2 separate regions of the Homo sapiens genome follow, and region 2 is linked to region 1. Evidence: promoter capture Hi-C in 16 types of primary human blood cells and fetal thymus (Javierre and others, 2016). All regions are on one chromosome and are shown on one strand. The core of a region is centred on a gene start or on the middle of the fragment in contact, and the rest is flanking DNA. Distances in the headings are between cores, read along the strand shown. Region 1 holds the start of SPON1 (spondin 1). Region 2 overlaps SPON1 (spondin 1).

Region 1 (5,189 bases), core at 1,817-4,316:
AAAGAAGAAAGAGGAAAGGAGAAAGGAGAAAGAAGAAGGAGGAGGAGGAGAGGGAGGAGGAAGAAGGAAGAAGAAGGAGGAGGAGGAGGAGGAGATTAAAAGAAAAGGTACTCATGAGCTTCAGCAGAGTTTTGGGGGCTGGATCTATTCTAGGAAATCAGAAAGGCCTTCTTTGGGGAGGCAGTTTTGCACTGAGATCTGAAGAGTACATAGGAGTTGGCCAATGGAGAGTGGTGGCTAGGAGAGACCAAAGAGCATGATAGGATTCCAGGCAGAGAGAACAGCACAGGCAAAGCCCATGAGAGAAGAGCTGCATGGCTGGAGAAGCAGATCAAGCAGAGCCTTGGAGGCCTGGCTGAAGATTCTGTCTTTATTCTGAGAGCCCTGAAAAACCACCAAGAAAAAATGTTAACCTCAGGATTGACATTCAAATCTGCATTTTTAAAAAGATCACTTGGGCTTCAGTGCAGAAGACAGATGGAAGGAGAGCACAAGTAGACAAGGGCAACCCAGTTAGGAAGATGAGAGAGGATGTCAACACAGACAGGGGTAGTGGTGGAGAAGAGCGTGAAACTTGATGTGGTGATGGATCGGATGAGTGGAGAAGACAGCAGAGGTCTGAGTGACAGCCAAGCTGGTTTAGGAAAACCTAGCTCATGTAGTGGGATTGGAGCTTGGTGAGCTGGTTAGAGCCTGCCGTCATAGCCCAGATGATAGGGCGAACACTGTGTACTGGAAAGTACCTCATTTGGTGTTGGGGATGCCTGTTTTAAATCCTGGCTCTTTCCCTTAATAGCCATGGAACATTACCTCAGCAGGTAATTTCATAGGCTCCTAATCTGAACAATGGGAGTGCGGAGGTGAATTGGGACTGCCTACTTCCCATAGTTTTCCTGTCAATATCCAATAAAAAGTTAAATATTGCATTCCTGCCTACTTCATGCCCACCCATCTCCAACTTAGATTTGAACCTTTTGTAGATGAATAGAGGTTCAAGAGCACAGATTTGAGCTTTCAGACATAAAATAAGCTTTGTGAAGACAGGGGTCACAATTTATTCATTTCTGTAGTTTCCTGCCCTCTGAGATAAGATCAGGTACACTTTCAAGAACCACTTATTTTAGTTTGTAGCATACATCACAATTATAATTTTAAAAGATTCATATAATTATGTATTTAATATTTGCCTTTGCCACAGGCCTGTAAAATCCTCAAAGGCAAGTAACATATCTGTGTTTTGTATCCAAGCACTGAGCACGTGGAGGGTCTTTGTCATGAATGAATGGATGGATAGAAGGATGCATGGATGGATGGATGGATGAATTTTTGTTCCGTCTTCTACCTACCGGTCAGCACAGAGTCTAGCTCCAAATCTACACTTAATGAAAGTTTGCTGGATGAATGGGACCGTGCAACTTGGAGTGCAGCATGAGCTCTGAGCCAGTCGAGTGAAGATGCAGACAATTCCCTCAGCACTCAGACATGGATCTGAGCCTCACCTCAAAAAGGAGGGCCGATCAGCTGGATCAGGTGCTGCTAGGGTCAAGAAGGGCTAGGGATGAGAGAAGAGCATAATTGGCTTCAGCAAGGGGTTACTTTCAGGTGACCTCTGAGAGAAGGCGTCCAGTTAATAGTGGCAGTGGGAATTCCAGCACAAGCACTAAGGAGTAAGTGGGCAGGCAGGGAGGAATGGAGATCTCCCATGCACCTAGCGCCCTGGGCCTGTTTGTAGCATTATGAAAGAGAAAACCCTGACCTGGAAAGCAAAGGAGATTGCTTGCTAATTGTAGGCACTTGAGGTGTGTCGAAGGCCCTGGGCAAAGAGAAGACGAGGAAACCAAAGCTTCTGAGGGCACCTGGGGAGGGATGTTTGTGTGCACTGAGAGGCAGGGGGCTTATGGTATCCCCAAGCGGGTGAGGGAGCAGGCGCCACTAGAGACCAACTAGAGTGTTTTATATGGGTCATATCATTTACTTCTAGCATATCACCCCACTACCTCTAAGAAGGATGTACTGGCACCCACCCCCACTTCCTTGTTCTCCAGAGCAGGAAACAAGCTTGGAGAGTGCGATAACTAGCCCAAGCTTCACAATGGGTGAGTGGCAGGACTGAGGTTTGATTCGGGTCTCTTCCCAGAGAGACACTGGGAGAGATTCTTGCCCCAGGTCTTTTCCCTTCAGGCCCTCAGGCTCAGCACCTCTCTGAACATCTGTCCCTGGGGAGTGAGAATCTGAACTAAAATGTAAGCCAAGAAAACACAGGCTCTTCATTGAATCTTTGGAAACTCCTTTCCTGGGCTGTAGGAGGACCTTCCTGAGCCTTAGGCACTTTTGCCTTTGCTGGCTCTTTCCTCCAAGTCAAGCATATTTTATGACTGTGGAGGTATAAATACAAATATATTAACATTATATAGTAAAACATTTTGTTTGACATAAATTTTTTCTTCTGATTTTTACAGAAAACATTTTCATAGATCTCCAAAAGTATCGTGGGCCCTAAGCGCTGTAGCTAAGTCGTTTCTCCTTTCTCAGCCTCCAGTCTGACATGTTCCACTATGGCCTTGGGAAGAGCAATGGGCCCGGAGTCGCCGCATCTAACCCTGCTGTAACTGGTCGCAAGTCACAGTTTGCTCATCTATAAAGTGAGCGAAAGTAATGTAATCTTTATTGGGAGTAGGGAACATGAAGGCGAGTCGATACAGTAAGTAAGCCGCCAAGCATATTGCTAGGCACAGAGCAGGTGTGCAACAAAAGTTATTTCTCAGGCTTTCCCTCCTCTGAGCGCCGTCCTCCAGAGGGTCCGGAGTGTAGCTGGGGGTTGGAGCAGCAGCCTCCTAGGCGATGGGACAGAGCCCACAGGGTCCGGTATGCCACGGTTTCTTCGTCAGACCCTGGGAATCCAACGTCGCAAAATAAACACGGCCGCGCCGCTAATCGCCAGTTCGGAGGAAACAAAACAGCGCTGCGCTGGGGGATCTGGGCAAAATCAGCCCTCCCTCCTCCCGCTCCTTCGCCGCGGCCCTCCCCTCCTCGCGCTGCTCTCGTTCGCTTGGCTCAGCTCAGCTCAGCTCAGCGCAGCTCCGCGGCCGCCAAGCCGAGGCGGGCACGGTCTCCGAGTCGCGGACGCCAGCTCCGAGCTCCCTCTCTCCGCCGCGCCTCCGCCAGGTCGCGCCTTCGTCGGGACCACTTCGGGCAGGAGTCGCGTGGCGAAGGCCTGCGGCCGCGGCACAAAGTTGGGGGCCGCGAAGATGAGGCTGTCCCCGGCGCCCCTGAAGCTGAGCCGGACTCCGGCACTGCTGGCCCTGGCGCTGCCCCTGGCCGCGGCGCTGGCCTTCTCCGACGAGACCCTGGACAAAGTGCCCAAGTCAGAGGGCTACTGCAGCCGTATCCTGCGCGCCCAGGGCACGCGGCGCGAGGGCTACACCGAGTTCAGCCTCCGCGTGGAGGGCGACCCCGACTTCTACAAGCCGGGAACCAGCTACCGCGGTAAGTGGCCGCCCGGCGTGGCATTAGGAGAGCGGGACCCGGTCCCCGGAGGGCGCCGACCTCGCGGTGCCGGAGGAGGGCGCGCGGTCTCCGGGCGCGTGGCGCGGGTGCAGCCCGGCAAGGGCCCTTCTGTCCTGGCTGCCCTCGGCCCTTGCAGTCGCGAGCTCGGCGCGGATCATAATCCAGCGTCCCGGGCCGTCGCGGGGGCCGCAGCCAGGAGAGGCACCCCGCGTTTCCGACGCGCGGTTCCCAGGCGGAGGATGTAACTGAGCCACACGTCACGCCGGCCTGACTGCAAGGGAGGCTCGCTTCTCCCCCGGCCGTCTGCAGGAGGGAAGTAAAACTGCCTTTCTCCAAATCGGTCTGGAGGGGACCCAGGCTTCTCTTGGTCGGGTCCCGGGCAAGGCAGCCACTCCAGCTTTCCCCGCTCAGTCCCTGAAGGAGAGGGTACCCGATTCTCAAAGACTGGCCCTGGGCGGGACAGCCACTCCGGCTTCCCTGGATAGGTCCCTTCAGGAGAAGGGACTTTGGCTTCTCCCTAACCGGTCCCGGGGTGCGGGAAGGAGGGGCAGGGACAGCCTAAAGCTCCTCGAAAGGGTCCTTGGAAAGAACCCCAAATTATTCTCTCGTGGTCCCAGACGAGATAGAGTATCTTGGGTTTCCAGAACAGGTTCCCAGTGGGGACAGGGTCCTCAAAGAGCTTGGGGTAAGCTCCGAGCTGCAAGGGGAATTGGATGAAGATGGAAAGAGAAGCCCCGATGCCCGAGGCCTGCTCCCTGGAGGCCGGGGAACCTTGGCTCCGGCAGCTCGGAGTCTCCACGTCCCAGGGATGTCGCGCCTACGCCGCTCGGCTGAGAGTGGGGTTTCGGGAGCTCAGGGAGGAGGTGTCCAAGCAGGTGAGAGCCTCCTAGGCGGGACAGGCAGTTCGACCAGCACCGATCTGAAGACGCCTGACTCTGTCCCCACGCCCGCCACCTCGCTCCTCAGCAGGGTCATCTCCCCAGACATCGTTTCCCCGTGCAGCAGCAGCCGCTCTCCGGGTGGGGGACAGGTAACCAGGAAGGGAAGCGAGCCTGTCTGGCCTCACCTTAGCTCCCGCCAGGGAGCGTGTCCTCTCACCCTCGCCCCTTCATAAGTCAGCTCTGGTGCTAAGCAGGGATGAGCGGGTCACTGGGGCACCTGGTGGGGCAAATGGGCTCCCAGCTGCTGTACTTTCCTCCTCGCCTTCCCAGTTCCCCAGAGAGCCTTGGACGGAAGCGGTGGGAGCAACACAGGAGAAAGTCTGGGGCAGCGTCAGCGGGCGCCAGGGTCACGCCGGAGACCAAAGCCAGGGGCCACCCTTCTTGGAGCGCTTTTCCCCCTTTCCCGGGTTTGTGTCCCCGACTTTCTCCACCCGGAGCTACCCAAAGCCGGCTCCTTGGTGCCCTTGGCACCTTGGCGTGCTGAGCACTTTGCGAGGAACAGTCTGACCCCGGCGCGCAGCTCCGCGGGATCCTGGGTACTCCACGAAGAAAGATTCTGGGCGGAGAACACCCCGCCCAGCCCGGGAGGGAGCGCGCGGCTTGGCACCGCGGCTAGAGCGAGCCGCGCCGACGGGCGGCGACTGCCACTCGGTGCAGCCGGGAGGCGGCCGATCCTCCCTGTGGACCGCAGGGAAGCGGGTATGACTTCAGTGGCCTATTCGGCCCTCCCCAAAACTGAGG
Region 2 (5,189 bases), core at 852-3,351, 250 kb after region 1:
ATTATTTCTGAGGCCTCTGTTCTGTTCCATTGGTCTATATATCTGTTTTGATACCAGTACCATGCTGTTTTGGTTACTGTAGACTTGTAGTATAGTTTGAAGTCAGGTAGTGTGATGCCTCTGGCTTTGTTCTTTTTCCTTAGGATTGTCTTGGCTATACGGGCTCTTTTTAGGTTCCATATGAAATTTAAAGAAGTTCTGGCCAGGGCAATCAGGCAAGAGAAAGAAATAAAGGGTATTCAACTAGGAAAAGAGGAAGTCAAATTGTCTGTGTTTGCAGATGACATGATTGTGTATTTAGAAAACCCCATCGTCTCAGCCCAAAATCTCCTTAAACTGAGAAGCAACTTCAGCAAAGTCTCAGGATACAAAATCAGTGTGCAAAAATCACAAGCATTCCTGTACACCAATAACAGACAAACAGAAAGCCAAATCATGAGCGAACTCCCATTCACAATTGCTACAAAGAGAATAAAATACCTAGGAATACAACTTACAAGGGATGTGAAGGACCTCTTCAAGGAGAACTACAAACCACTGCTCAAGGAAATAAGAGAGGACACAAACAAGTGGAAAAACATTCCATGCTCATGGATAGGAAGAATCAATATCATGAAAATGGCCATACTGCCCAAAGTAATTTGTAGATTCAGTGCTATCCCCATCAAGCTACCACTGACTTTCTTCACAGAATTAGCATCTTATATTCTTATATTATTATACGTGTAGTTTTCTAGGGGTTTACTGCTTGTGTATAATAATGTATATAGTAATGTAGTATATATGAAAACATGGTGTATAGTAATATATTGGGCATAGTAATGCTACTGACCTTTGAATTTTAATACCAAACTGTCCTCTTTCTAAACTGGTTGATTTAGTTCCAGGTGTACAGCAAATTCTTTGTAAATATTTTTTCTTCTTTCCCAGTAATTATTGTCCTTTAAGTCTTTTGCAGTTTGTCTAAAGCAATATTATGTTATAATAGTAGCTATATTATTTTCAGGGGCCAATTTTTGAAAAAAAAAGCTTTTAATCTTAATCCATTATTGATTCATTATTTAAAATAGGTATCTTTATCAAGTTAAGGTAGTAAATAGTATCACTCCAAGTAAAGGTTTTATCAATTTTTCTTTTGACATATATTGAAATAGATTATGTCATCTAATGTTAATATAATGTTAGTCTTTTATTGATTTTTTTTTTTTGCATTTCTTTAGTAACCTTCCTTAAGATCAAATTTGTCACACAGAATAATTAGATGGAGTCCGGCCTTGTCTGTGCTTTGATGCAGTCAGCATAGCTTGGGAATTATCTGTTCCTTGTGAGCTTGGAGGAATCCATTAGATCTGTATGCCTTGCTTTTTGGGGATATTCTGAATTTTTAAAAAATTTCTACCTCCATTACTGCTTTAATAGGGTTTCCTACCTCATTGCGTCATTTTTAAATATAAGATTGAATTAAAATCATATATGTTTATTATAAAATATCATCCATTTGTTCAGGTTTTCAGTCAGTTAGCATATAATTAGACATAGTATTCCATATAAGTGGTTTAATTCCTTTTGCTACTGAATATATTGAGTCAGACCTGAATTCTCATCCAGGTTCCACCACTGATTCATGTGACTTTAACCAAGTAACTTGACTTCTATCATCATTTCCCTATAAATAGGGGTCATATTACTTAGAGTATAGGATTGCTGTGAGGATTACAGATGATGTATATGAAGTTCTTAGCACAGTGCCTGTCCTCACTAAGTAGAAGATATTACACTGTTCTCTTTCCTAATGCTGTTTGTCTCCTTTTTTGCTGTTCTTTAATTATATTTGCATGGGTTGTCTATTTTTCATAGTCTTTCCAGTATTTTCAGAAGCAACATATAAGCAATGGGGAGCCACTGAAGGAAAGAGTACCAACTCTGATAATCGAATGTCTGAGCATCATTTGTGGGTGGATCATCAAAAGATGGGTCTATGCTGTGAGAAATGACAGAATTGACAAGAGGCCATCTAGACTCTTCTTGCCAAGCAAAATGTGGAAGTGTAGTCCTTATATTCATAGTCAGTAAACACAGTCTCCAGAGCTTGGGAGAGACTCTTTTAAGGGCTTCTGAGAGTGGGAAATTGACCAGGCCCCCAGTTGTCCTGTGCCTGCATCCAAGCCTTTAGGGCCTGGAAACAGAGATGCTGACAAACACCATGACCCAGACTGAACCCAGCTTTTCAATGGGACAACAAAATGAGCTTTGTTCATCCTTTTGAAATGGAGCCCAATTATGTTTGATTAATAAATGAAACTCTGTGTCCAAATAGGAGAGACACTGTAGAAAAAATGGTCAGAAAACACTTTGTGTAAGAAAAGGCTGATGAAGTTTTCATCAGAGGGCTTTCATTTGCCTGGAGCTAGTCTCAGACAGAGAGAAATGTTCAGCTTCCAAATCCTTCTCTTGTTTCTCATTCCTTTTTTTTTTTTCTTAAATATGTTTAACTCTCCTGCTTAAGATTTATTTTGGGCTCCTTAGCGATGGATTTGTGTTTATTGTGTCATTTAAAGAAAAATGCACTATTAAAAACACTCCTAATCCATTTATAAATGTCAACAGAAAAACAAGTCAAAGGTTGACAATAGTAATTAATCAAACGATATTTATTGAGCACTTTCTATGTACAAAGCACTTTCTATGTACAAAGCTATATGCTATTAAGTAAGAATAGGAAACAGTCTCCAGCCTCAAGAGTCCTTCAGTTGAGCTGAGGAAATAGCCAAATAATTGACTAGCTATAATACAAGGGAAATGGAAATAAATATTAAAGTCAGTACATAAGCCACGCTGTACTGAAGTACATATCCCAGGGATGGATTAGCAAGGACTTCATGAGCAAGTTGCATTTGGGTTGCATCTTGAAATGTAAGCAGGCTTTTTTATAAGGATGTGTTCTCTTAGATTTTTAGGTGAGCCAGCCAATGCACCTATGTATTATGCCCCAGATGTCAGCAAACACAAGCAACTATTCTAAGCTAGTCCATCAAACCCATGTGTGCACACAAGCACACAATCATGTTGTTCCCAGGTCACCTATGGTTACTTTCCTATTCCTCATTGCATTTGTCCCATCCAAATGCTTACTCCCAAACATGCCTCTGAACCTCTTCAATTTGATGACCTCCAAAGCTTAGCTTCTTAAATCTGGTCCTTTTTACATGGTTTTTGGTTTTGCTTCCTTCCTTAAGTTTTAGCCTTTCACTCCATGTTGTCCTGGGGAAAGAACTCTCGGCTCTGGTCCTCTGCGCGTAGGGCCCCCATCCCTAGCCGGATCAAATCTTGGAATGAGGAAGCGTTGGAAGAATTCCCTGTGTTATCCACCCAGGAGTTGTGTAGGTAATACAGGTTCTCCTCCACTCCCTGGCCCCAAGTAAGATGATGCTTCAGAATAAAAACATGCCCTTGCATAGATAGGTGGTTCCCTTCACAGCTGGCTCCTTACCAGAATGGAGAACAGTCCTGCTAGCATGGGGTTCAGAGTCTTCCTGTGTGTGCATCTTTCCAAAGATATTAAGAGGAGAAAAAGATCCAAGTGAATTTCCAGGTTTCTCCAACACTTTAAACTATACATTTGATATTCTTAACCAACTTGATGAACATGTTGGCCTGTCTGTTCCACACACCAAGGAGGTAAAGAGAAGGCAAGTGAGATGATGAGCCATGGAATTCCAACTGCTATGTCAGTCATCAGGCTAGAAAAATGGGAGGCTGTGCATTAATTTCAAGAGAGCCTCGGAGAACTGTCTCAGGATAAATCAGCCAGAGTGACTGGAACATTGTACCATTTTCAACTGGCAAATTTATTAATGAAGTAAGAGTACAGTCTCAAGCCAACTCCTCTTGCCCCTGTAACAAACTCCCCCTGTGAGAGAGGATGAAGGGGATGTGTTTGTTAGAATACTTAGAGGCCATGAGTAACACAAAGCCTAACCAACAGTGCTTTAAATTTTGTGGACTTTTACTATTTCATTAAGTGAAAAGTTTGGAGATAGGTAATTCCAAGGTTAGTAGAGTGGCTCATTCATGTCATCAGGGACTAAGACATTTCCATCTTTCTACTCTGCCTTTTTTATGTTTTTGTTTTTGTTTTTTTAAGAGATGAGAGTCTCACCATGTTATTCAGGCTGGAGTGGCTATTCACAAGCAGGATTATAGCACACTACAGCCAAGAACTCTTGGGCTAAAGCAGTCCTCCCACCTCAGCCTCCCAAGTAGCTGGGACTACAGGTATGCACCACACCCAGCCCACTCTGCCATTTGTAATATGTCATCAGTGGCTCCCTTTATGGCCACAAGATCAGTATTAGCATAGTAGTTCCACACATTGCCTCCTTAGGTGACCTGGGTTATTTCTTCTTCTCAGAGTGCTATTGGCCAGGTTACTTGTGGTATTCAAATACAAATGGGCTGGTGTAAAGGGTCTGAGATGGTATTATTCATATGACTGGAAACTTCAAGGGGTATCTTGAAGGCAGGGACTGGCAACTGAAGTGTCTGCATGACTCTTCAGCATGGTGGTCTCAGGGAGTCAGACTTTCTACATGATGGCTTGGGGTCCTCAAAGGCAGTATTACAAAAGGCAGAAAGTGGAAGCTGCCAGTGTCTTAAGGCCGGGGCCCAGAAACTGGCCAAAGCAGTCACAAAGCCCCCCACATTCAAGGGGAGATAACATAGACCCCCATCTCCTAATGGGAGGAGTGTCCAAGAATTTAGTTATCTTTGGGTCACATGTAGGTTATAAGTTAAGCTGTTGTAATAAAGAGACCAAAAATATGCCGACTTAAGATAGAAGTATATTTCCCCTTGTACATCACAGTTTAGAGGTGAGCAACACAGGCTGGTGGTCTATTTCTGCCAGAAAGTTCCCATATCTGGATCCAGCATGCTTTGTCTACTACTTCTTCTCAAGTGGTGGGAAAGGGAAAATGAGAATTGCAGACAAACAGCTTCCTTGTAAAAGATAATCCAAAATTTCTACACATCCCTTCTGTTTGCATCACATTGGCTAAATGTTAGTCACATGGCCACACCTGTCTGTAAGTTATTGCCAAATAGAACGTAGGGAAAATGGGTATTGAGGACAATTGTTCATCAAGGTGGTTAAGAATATCAAATGTATAGTTTGAAGTGTTGGAGAAAAT

Evidence for each region. Contacts are between HindIII fragments. The CHiCAGO score rates a contact against its expected background, and 5 or more counts as called.
Region 2: a fragment that was not itself captured here is called in contact with the fragment with the promoter of SPON1 in region 1 in 1 of 17 cell types (M2 macrophages); the score reaches 5.8 in M2 macrophages.

The regions. Positions count from the first base shown.
Region 1 is chr11:13,959,657-13,964,845 of GRCh38, forward strand. SPON1 (spondin 1) reads left to right here and starts at 3,067. Exons shown (of 16, transcript NM_006108.4): 1 at 3,067-3,486. The coding sequence starts at 3,249. LOC124902637 (a long non-coding RNA gene) reads left to right here and starts at 3,501. Exons shown (of 2, transcript XR_007062602.1): 1 at 3,501-5,189. The HindIII fragment of the contact is 7,695 bases long and covers 2,084-5,189 here.
Region 2 is chr11:14,210,924-14,216,112 of GRCh38, forward strand. All of the region lies in intron 6 of SPON1 (spondin 1), which reads left to right. Among named protein-coding and RNA genes, the nearest start is that of RRAS2, 150 kb to the right of the region's middle. The HindIII fragment of the contact is 2,148 bases long and covers 1,028-3,175 here.